Linked DNA regions of Homo sapiens: region 2 is linked to region 1. The links are contacts of gene promoters, found by promoter capture Hi-C in blood cells and fetal thymus (Javierre and others, 2016). All regions are on one chromosome and are shown on one strand. Each heading gives the region's core, a stretch centred on a gene start or on the middle of the fragment in contact. The rest is flanking DNA. Distances are from core to core; before and after follow the strand shown. Region 1 holds the start of NFE2L3 (NFE2 like bZIP transcription factor 3). Region 2 has its middle 75 kb from the start of MIR148A.

What was found. Contacts are between HindIII fragments. The CHiCAGO score rates a contact against its expected background, and 5 or more counts as called.
Region 2: a fragment that was not itself captured here is called in contact with the fragment with the promoter of NFE2L3 in region 1 in 2 of 17 cell types (fetal thymus and erythroblasts); the score reaches 6.7 in fetal thymus.

Annotation. Positions count from the first base shown.
Region 1 is chr7:26,148,515-26,153,594 of GRCh38, forward strand. It overlaps NFE2L3 (NFE2 like bZIP transcription factor 3), which reads left to right and starts at 3,684. Exons shown (of 4, transcript NM_004289.7): 1 at 3,684-4,554. The coding sequence starts at 3,985. RefSeq lists enhancers at 1-635, 3,644-4,438, 4,439-5,080, 4,583-4,772 and silencers at 3,473-3,852, 3,873-3,942, 3,953-4,022, 4,133-4,382, 4,393-4,462. The HindIII fragment of the contact is 3,470 bases long and covers 2,111-5,080 here.
Region 2 is chr7:25,871,936-25,877,477 of GRCh38, forward strand. No RefSeq gene overlaps it. Among named protein-coding and RNA genes, the nearest start is that of MIR148A, 75 kb to the right of the region's middle. The HindIII fragment of the contact is 1,660 bases long and covers 662-2,321 here.

The DNA of each region.
Region 1 (5,080 bases), core at 2,434-4,933:
GTGAGCAGCCCCTCTGCCCGGCCACCACCCCGTCTGGGAGGTGTACCCAACAGCTCATTGAGAACGGGCCATGATGACAATGGCGGTTTTGCGGAATAGAAAAGGGGGAAAGGTGGGGAAAAGATTGAGAAATCGGATGGTTGCTGTGTCTGTGTTGAAAGAAGTAGACGTGGGAGACTTTTCATTTTGTTCTGTACTAAGAAAAATTCTTCTGCCTTGGGATCCTGTTGATCTGTGACCTTACCCCCAACCCTGTGCTCTCTGAAACATGTGCTGTGTCAACTCAGGGTTAAATGGATTAAGGGCGGTGCAAGATGTGCTTTGTTAAACAGATGCTTGAAGGCAGCATGCTCGTTAAGAGTCATCACCACTCCCTAATCTCAAGTACCCAGGGACACAAACACTGCGGAAGGCCGCAGCGTCCTCTGCCTAGGAAAACCAGAGACCTTTGTTCACTTGTTTATCTGCTGACCTTCCCTCCACTATTGTCTTATGACCCTGCCAAATCCCCCTCTGCGAGAAACACCCAAGAATGATCAATTTAAAAAAATAATAATAAAATTAAAAAAAATACAAAACAGCTGGGCTGGGCGTGTTGGTGGGCGCCTGTAATCCCATCTACTCAGGAGGCTGAGGCAGGAGAATTGCTTGAACCTGGGAGGCAGAGGCTGCAGTGAGCCAAGATCGCGCCATTGCACTCCAGCCTGGGCAACAAGAGCAAAACCTCATCTCAAAAAAAAAAAAGAAAAAACAAAAAAAAAACAACAACCATGGTAGCTTCCTTCCCCCAGAGTGAGGGCTCCAAGAGGGAGAAAGTGGGAGAGAGGGTAAGCAAGATAAAAGCCACTCCATCTTTTTGTAATCTAAACTCAGAAATGAAAGCCCACCATTTTTGCCATATTTTGTTTATTAGAAGCACATCACCAGGTCTAGCCCACACTAGGGAATATAGGGAAGGGAATAATCACTGGACATTATCTTGGGAGTTGCCTACCCTACCAGGATGCCATTTAAGGTGGTGCTTCTCAAACTAACCCTTTGAAGAATCAACTTTAAAAAAATTTTTTCAATTTGTTGCAAGTCAGCACTTTTGTCAAATAAAATAGAAATTCATTTCTAGAAAAATGAAATTACAAAGGCATTTAAAAAACCCAAAACCTCAGCTCATCTGTTGATGTTGTAATGATGTCAAATTGCTATAAAAATTTCTTTAGGCCAGGCATGGTGGCTCACACCTGTAATTGCAGCAGTTAGGGAGGCTGAGGCAGGAGGATCGCTTGAGCCCAGGAGTTCAAGACAGGCCTGGGCAACACAGCAAGACTCCATCTCTACAAAAAAAAATTTTTTTTTCTTTAAATTCTCAATTCTATTACTTATCTCATTTGGATCAGAAGCAAATAGTTTACACATGAGCATCAGTTTCAGGTCAACCTTTGAGTAGCACTGATTTCAGGATTTTATGAATGCAGATGACTTTTCAAGGCTTTTACAAGACAATGGTTTGGACTTTTCACTTGGCTATTCCTAGATGGAGGATTCTAGAAATAAACCTAAAGAGAAGTTTTTCCTTCTAATTTCATTCCATTCTCCCCATGCTCCTAAAAGTGGGACTTTTTATTGTGAGTAAAGTCAAGGGTATGTAGGATTGTCTCCTGGTTAACACTTTCCTGCAAGGTCTTTTAGGTACCCTTGTTCTTCCCACCAGTCAAGAGCCAGAGTTAAGCCATGCTTTTGAAGTGTATAGTCTGAAAGATATTTAACACTATGATTACCAATTCACATTGTAAAATGGTGAGGGGTTAGCCCACTTCCCAACAAATGTTAGAAGTTTGTATGTGCTTCCTGTTCCCAGTCTATTCAGATTTCTCAAAATACATCTCAAGTGTAACCTCCTCAATTCAACTAATATTTTTTTTGAGCATCAACTGTGTGTAAGATTCTGGAGGGCACCGCCTTGAAGAAGGCACCGCCTCTACTCTCAATAGTTTTAGAGCTCCCTATATAAACCTTGAAGTAATTTACATCTAAGTATTTTGGCAATTGAGTACATTATTTCTCTTGTTTCTTAGTGTCTCACAAATTTTTATCTCATCTCCCTAGTAAAACCATAAGCTTACGGAAGGAAAGAACTCCGTTTCATATCCTTCATGCCTCCAGCACAGCCTCAGGCAGTTAGTAGGTTCTCAGTAAAAAGCTGAAGGCAGCATTTACTAAGCTGAGACTCTAAATCCGCTGTTCAAAGACTAAATGCTGTGAACGGGGTCTTGATAACCTGGCAATCACCTTTCTTCATCCTCTTTGCCACCCCAACCCATCTTCCAAGGCTTAACACAGAGGAAGCAACTTTCCTCTGCTCCCCTGTTTCTGCTCCCCTGGTCCCCATTCTTTTCTCTTCTTACTACACTAGCCCAGGAGAGAGATGAGAAAGCCAGGTGGAGGGAGGGGCCTTTTAAAACAAGTCTTGCTCAACTTTTTACACAACTGCCCATTCTCAGTTGGGCATCCCCTCCTGTCCCCTTTTCTTCCAAGGAAGGGAGCTAAGGTTAGTAAAACCTACCCTTGCAAGGCCCAGTGCTGGGTACTGTGCATGGACAAAGGTGAACCAAACAGGTTCCTTGTCCTCAAGAATTTACAATGGGCAAATCAGACCGATTCTCATCTACAACACAGAGTTGAATGGGCCAACTGTTACAATGTTGGCAAACGGAGAAATCACGGTGCAACAGATGGGGGAGAGATTAATGCCAACTGGTGAAAATTCAGAGGATGTAGCTTTGGAGCTAAGCCTTGAGGGTGAGTAACACAAACAATGGGTAGCAGGGAGCACTTCCTACCCATGCAGTGCTGTGGTCGGTGGTTTACATGCATTATCTCATTTGGGGCTCACAAAAGGTCTGCTGGGGAGGTGCTATTATTAGTCTCATTTTACAGTGAGAAAACTGAGGCACAGAGAAAAGGAGAGATTTGTCCAAGGTCGCCCCTCAAGTGGAGGGGGGACTTGAACTCACTCAGGGTAACTGTAGAGCTGGTGCTGTCAACCCTCAAGGAAACAACGGATAAGGAGCAAAGGATACCGAGAGGAGGTCTAGCACTATGCAGAGCACGCCCAGAGAAGAGAGAGGGGTCTGTGAGGCTGGGACTGGGGTGTGCGGAGTGGTGGGATGACTGATCCCAATGGCAACGGTGGAATTTATATGTGAAACTCCGAACTTTACACGAAATATTTCATCTGACCTCAACACATCCCTGTTTGACAGGCTCTATGATCCCCATTTTACAGATAGCGGAACTGAGACAGAGAGGTTACTCTTGCCCACTCTGCCCGCCAAGTGTCCTCACGTTGGGGTGGAAGCCCGTTGCAAGCTGCCAGGCCCCTCGTAGCTGCCCAGTCACTCTCCGCCCAGTCTACACATCCTGTCCCTTCCCACCCAGCTACCCACCACCTAGCCCTCCACCCCAACTCCCGCCCTTGGCTTTCAGCAAGGATGGCCCAGCTCACGGCCACAGGGTGGCAAGGGGCCACTTGGTGCCCAGAACAACTTCTGCTCCCAGAAAGCCTTGCGTTCCCCGGACATAAAGAGGCTTTGAGCTCGGGGAGCCCCGCCCCGTGCGGCCCCTCCCACGGGCGCGGGCCCCGGGCGGCAGGGGGCGTGTTCCTGTCGGCTGCGCCCGCGGCCGGGGGCGGAGCTTGGCCACCGCGCCGGGCTGCGGGCGGCTGGGCGAACGGGCTCGGCGCTCAGGTGGCTCCTTCTTCGCTTCTCCCGATCCCCGGCGGTGCCAGGCACGGTGCCGGCTGCCGAGGGAACGCCTTTGTGCCCGGTGCTGGGAACCCGCGACGGCCGCCACGCGCCCCGGTCCATTGTTTCGCTTATCTGGGTTCCAGGCAGGTGCGGGCGGCGCGCGGGGTCCGCACGTGTCACCCCGGCGGCTGGGGCGCCGGGACCCGCGGGCGCCGGCAGGGGCGTTCCCGGGCGCGCGGCGGCGATGAAGCACCTGAAGCGGTGGTGGTCGGCCGGCGGCGGCCTCCTGCACCTCACCCTCCTGCTGAGCTTGGCGGGGCTCCGCGTAGACCTAGATCTTTACCTGCTGCTGCCGCCGCCCACCCTGCTGCAGGACGAGCTGCTGTTCCTGGGCGGCCCGGCCAGCTCCGCCTACGCGCTCAGCCCCTTCTCGGCCTCGGGAGGGTGGGGGCGCGCGGGCCACTTGCACCCCAAGGGCCGGGAGCTGGACCCTGCCGCGCCGCCCGAGGGCCAGCTGCTCCGGGAGGTGCGCGCGCTCGGGGTCCCCTTCGTCCCTCGCACCAGCGTGGATGCATGGCTGGTGCACAGCGTGGCTGCCGGGAGCGCGGACGAGGCCCACGGGCTGCTCGGCGCCGCCGCCGCCTCGTCCACCGGAGGAGCCGGCGCCAGCGTGGACGGCGGCAGCCAGGCTGTGCAGGGGGGCGGCGGGGACCCCCGAGCGGCTCGGAGTGGCCCCTTGGACGCCGGGGAAGAGGAGAAGGCACCCGCGGAACCGACGGCTCAGGTGCCGGACGCTGGCGGATGTGCGAGCGAGGTAGGTGCAGAGCGGGAAGCGAGCGAAGTGCGGCGTCTACGCCGCCGGGAGCCCCCGAGGCTTGTGTCGGATCTGAGCAGGGGCCACTCTCGCTGTGTCCTGGCACCCTTAGCCCCTGGTCTTTGCAGGTTCGCAGATGCTGCTGCTCTGATTCCGAATGAAGGGCTACTAGTGCTGTCGCTGTGGTTTTTAGGTGTTTAAGGAAGAAGTGGACGAAATCATCCGTTTGGTTATAGAGAATACCTTTCCTTGTGTGTGATGGCTGGCAAGAGTAGTTCGGGGATGGGGAGGGGAGAAGCAATGCCCACTGTCTTCGCTCAGTACCTCATGTACACTGGGGTGTCGTTCTCTGGGACCCGTGCCCGACCTGGACGATGTGAAGGAGGCCGTGACCTCTGGGAGGATGCATGTTTTTAAGAACGACTCTCCCGGCCTAACGCAAGGACCTTCGCCCTGTTTTCAGCCCAATTGCTGTTCGTTTTTGCTGCTTCCCTGGATTAAGGAGCCATGGTCAGGGTCTATTCAG
Region 2 (5,542 bases), core at 242-2,741, 280 kb before region 1:
AGACTGTGAAATCTCTATTTGGGGAGAATTTGAAAGAAAGGGGAGGAAGGAACACCTGTTGGAAGGAGTGAGTAAAGTAAAAGGTCCCTGGAGGTTCTTTTTGGCTCTCAGATTCCATAATTCTGTGGCCTCTAAGAACACACACTGTAGTGCCCAAGAAGGGCTGGTGACTGATAAGTGTCACCTTTCCTGTGGTGTCCAGAGGCACAGGCCAGCACTGCTCACAGGTGTGCTGAGATGTGAGAGAGGATGGCATCTGGAAGAAACAGAAAAGCTGCAGACCAGGCTGGCTTCACCAGATCTTGTTTGTTGAGTAATCTCTTTCAGGAGACAGCAGTGTATCCAAGTGCCGTCTTGCTAAAGGTTTTGTAGGGCCTGAATCGTATATAATTTGGGGGCCCTTCTTTGAGGAAAAGATTATGAAATTATACAAATGTCAAAATGGCCAGGCACTGTGGCTCACGCCTATAGTCCTGGCTACTCAGGAGGCTGAAGCAGGAAGATCACTTGAGCCCAGGAGTTACAGGCTGCAGTGAGATGTGATTGCATGGCTGCACTGAAGCCTGGGTGACAGAGCAAGAGTCTGTCTCTAAAAAAAATAATAATAACAATGCACAGGGCCTTGAAAGGGGCCCATGCAAGTGAGAGACCCTGAAACCTAAGCTTCATTAGCTTCCTAACTTACCTTGCCTGCAACCACAGTATTATGATTCCTTTACAGATTAGGAAACTGGGGTTTGGAGAAGTGAAAGGACTTGTTCCAAGTCATGTCATTGATGAGTGGCCAAGTTGGAAATGGCTCCAACACTACAGCTGCACTTACAAGTAGGGTGGAGCCTCTGCTCTCACCTCTGGGTAGGTCTACGGTTGCTGGGGCTCCTATTTCTCTGAGAGGTGTTCACTCCTCACTCTGAGCAGAGTAGTTTAATGCTGAGTATCCCCCTGTATGAGGGTTTCAGAAAACCTGAAGGTTTGCCAGGCCTACAGTGCTTAGAGGTTTGATTATGGGAGCCTTCAGTGAGGGCAACTGACAACACTGATCATCTGTGAGTGTTAAAAGAAACAATATTTATGGCTATGATAAAAGATGTAAGCATTAATGTCTATGGCAGAAGTCAGGAATGTGGTCACAAAAGTGATCCTAGAATGTTAATGATGCCAGGGACCCTGTCCAATGCCATCTTTCTCCAACTCAAGATGAAAACTGAGGCCAGGGAGATTAAGTCAGTTGCCCTAGGTCACAGAGATTCCAGTGCCAGAGTTGGAACTAAGAATCTACTGCTGGAATTGCAATGCTTTGTTGCCAACATCCTTACTGGGGCTCCAATTCTACAAAATATTCTTTATTTACTCCCTAAGCAAGGACAGTAATGCTGCTTTCAAGAGTTGAACACTTAACCATGAATTTTGATTTTTGCTTTATTTCAATAATAAACAAAACACTTTCCATGTATTTTTTTTTATTCTACAAAATGCTTGGGGGAAAAAAATCTCCTATCATGATTCTTGCAAAAAAAGTAATTTTCCACATTTACATTTAGCTGATTAATGGTACTGCCTGGTGCTTTCTATTGTTAAACAAAGAGTTAGCCCAGTTAGGGGTGTTCGTGAAAAGAAAGTTTCCATGCCTGAACTTCCACCTTGGTGTCACTGAAGGATATATTTTCACGCATTTTAATTGACTTTTGGAAGATTGTTGCCTATAATAAGATTTAAGATGTCCCATTTCCAATAAGCTGGCTACATTGTTCCCACAATTCCATGCCAATAGATGAAGTTTATTGCTGGTGATGGCCACTTTCCCTCCCATTTCCTGTCTTTCTCCTCATTTTTCTACTCTGGATACTTCCCCAGCTACTGAGAAAATGTTCAAAATGGTCCTCTAAAACTATGGTGCTCAATAGAACAACTCGCAATGATGGAAGTGTTCTCAGTTGGCACTGTCCAATATTGTAGCCATTAGCTATATGTGGCTAGTGAGCCCTTGAAATGTGATTATTCTGACTCAGGAACTAAAATTTAAATTTCATTTTAATAAATTTAAAATATAGTCATGTGACTAATGGCTACCATATTGGACAGTTCAAATGCAGAATATTTTCATCACTGCAGAAAATTTTATCAGACAGCACTAAGCTAAAGGGTCTACCCCTGAGCAAAAGCGCTGAGACTCTACCCCATGTCTGACCCTGAGCTGGGTTCATTATTTGGGCTGAGCTAAAAGAGAGGCCTCCAAGATGGCTTGGTGTGCAATTTCTGGGACTTAAGGATACAATGAGTTCGGGCAGGGTGGAGGCACTGTATTGGTTCCTATACAATCAAGCTTTGGAGTGTATAATGGAGAAGAAAGCTTAGAGACCTCTAGTTGTTGCCCCTCTTTACAGACAGGAAAACTCAGTGGCAGTAAATTAGTCGCTTGGCAAAAGTTAACACAAAAGTTAATAATTGAGCTTGTCTGCTAATTCCCAAGCCAGTCCTCTTTTCTAGTTGGGTACAGACCAGTGTTGGAAGACCAGGGCATGTCATTCTTTCTTGTATTACTTCAGCACATCCATATTGTGTATTTCCCCTGTATGAGGATTCTTTTGTTTAGGATGGACAGGGTGGGAGACATGAGCTGCCTCTTGGTGGAGGAGAAAGGTGTGTTCGTCAGCTTGCCTCAAAGGGCTGTGCAGGGATGGGATAGGGTGACCAAGCCTTACCTGGGACTGACTCAGTTTTAGCACTCAAAGCCCCCATGCCAAGAAATCTCTCAATCCGAGGCAAATCAGGATAGTTGTTCCACTGATACCAATGATAATGTCACCAATCTTCCAAAATTCAGATGAAGCAAAGAATCAAGGCAAGTTGCCAGCCATGGTGATATGCACCTGTACTCCCAGCTACTCAGGAGGCTGAAACAGGTCGATCACTTGAGCCCAGGAGTTCAAGTCCAGCCTGGGTAACCTAGCAAGAGGTCATCTCTAAAAAGAAAAAAAAGAATCAAGGCAAGTCTAACATTTTGGTGGGTGGCTTATGCCTTTGCTTTATAGATTCAGAGAAAAAGACGTTTCCTGGTACTTTTCCCTTCATCTGCATTCAATTGTTCTCCTCAACCAGCAACCTTAAAGCAGCACTGCTTTTAAATGGACCATGTCTCCTTGCAGAACATTACATCTTAAAACATACCTTTAAAAGACCATAACATGATTTTAAAACAGAGATATGGAGCGATTAATCCACAATGTAGGACTCTGTTCTGGAGGCTGAGACCGGCTGTTACAAGGTGAAGGCATTTATACAGTCGTCAGTCATCTGCACCAAAACCTGCTTTAGTGGAGGTCTGGGGATTTCTAATGGCCTCTTTAAGAATGCCCTGTTTCCACTCGAATCACTCCTAGACAGAAATATTATTCAGGTACCCATCAAACACCTGGCTATGACATCAATTAGCCAAAGCCCCAGAATGAAGGAGTCAGCAGAGGATACCAGACAGAGTCCCAGGTTAGGAAACAAGAATCTGGGTTCTAGTTTTAATTCTTCCATTAGATAGGCTGTGTGACCTTGGGAAAATCACTTGAACTCTCTGAGACTCAGCTTCCTCATCTGCAAAGGGAGATACCAATGCCTGGCCCAATTGTTCTCATGGGGAGATTATGGGGAATCAGTGAAGTAATAAATGTGAATGTGCTTTGAAAAGTTTTGCACCAACCTTGGTTTGCACCAACCTCAGTGCAAAAGAAATTGTGTTTTTGCTATTCCTTTTGCACCAACCTAATACAACGACAAGATACATAGTTCAGGGCCTCTGATAGATGAATCTGAGCTTTGGAAATGTAACCATGAGTGGAGATGAAGCACAATTACAGGGCAGGGAGAACCAACCTTCACTTAAATCATCCACCTCCCTGAAGGGTGAGAAAGGGGTCATATAAAGGCAGAAAAGAAACAGCAGAAGAAACACTAATCCAGAGAGAACGTATCAAAGGGCTAGAGGAAGTTGAAAAGGCTACATTGTCTCATTCTGGCATTTTCTTCTGTAACAAAGATGTAAAACCTCAAACTGGGTCATTTAAAACAAAATGCCAGAACAATTGCAAGGCCCCACAAAGGCAGAAACACGCACAAGATACATCTATTAATGTGTACTTACGCTGGATATTGTAGTATTGGAATGCATGTCAAGATATTGCTTTCCTGCTATTTCTGTATAGAATACATAGGAGATATCACAACAATTAGATCACTCGCATCTGAAGTGACCAATTAGATCACTCCAATCTAATTTATTTTCCCAGAACATTTTTTACACTGACGGTCCTTGTATTAGTCAGCTACTGCCACAATAATACTGTGTAACAAACAGCCACCAAACCTCAGTGTCTACATGTCAGTCAATACTGATTTTTTGTTATTGAGTCTAAGGCCGGTTCTGATGGTGTCAATTGGGTTCACTTGTGCACTTGTCATCAACCAGGGATTGGGAAGATGTATCTGCTGATTTTGGCCAGGCTCACTCATATGTTTGGGGGTTAGGCTTGGCTGACTAATACAGAACTATGTCTCTGGGAGCTCTTCTATGTGTACAGTTGACAGATAAAATGCAGGATACCCAGTTAAATTGGAATTACAGATAAACAATAGATACTTTTTTAGTGTAAGTATATCCCAAATGTTTGCTGAATCTGGCAAGCCTACCTGTGAGTCTCCCCATCCCTCTAGCAGGCTAGCACAGGCACAGCTCCGTGGCCGGCAGGGGAAGCACAGTGGAACTTGCTTGGTTCTCTGGAGTCTAGACTCGGCTGGTACTTCATTGCCTTCTGTTGGCCAAAGCAAGTTTGTGACTTTGCCCAGCCCAGATTCAAGGACTACAAAGTCACATTGAGAAGGACACACAGGGAAGTTGAAGAATTGGGGCCTTTTTGACAGTCTGCCACAGTTCCTAGTAGCAAAATCACCAACAAAAGAGCTCAGCACAGAATTCTCCAAGAAAATGTCACTTGCCCATTCTATTTTAATATCAAAGATGAGGGACTTCATGAAGTGTTCAGGGCACTTAACTACAGGGGAGAAGACTCAGTTTCTGGTTTGACTTTATCAATCATGTTCTTTGTTTTCTTGGGTGGACTACATCTTCTCTGGGGCTCAGTATTTTCATCTATGAAATGGTAAGTTTGCGCTCTTGGGGCTTTGCAGCTCTAAGATTCAATAATCTTGAATATTTTAACTTGCCTTCTTCCATCATTTCCCTATTGCAAACTCTTCTAGCCCAATTGACTTTATGACTGTATTAGCTATGCTATAACTTAAAACAGCCCATTATGGTCCTCACTGACTGCTCCTATATTCAAAGTAAATTCAATCACCAATACATATCCAACAAAAAAAATGGAAATCTCCAGGCCAAGGGGACATCAGCTCCTGGCAAGGAACAAGACCCTGGAATAAATAAATCTGCTTTGCCCAATATTTCCCCCTCTTGATTTGAAGAGAGACAGTAACCCTTTTTCTGTCATTGAATTAATTTGCTAGAAGTGGCTGTAATTTCTATATAAATCCTGAG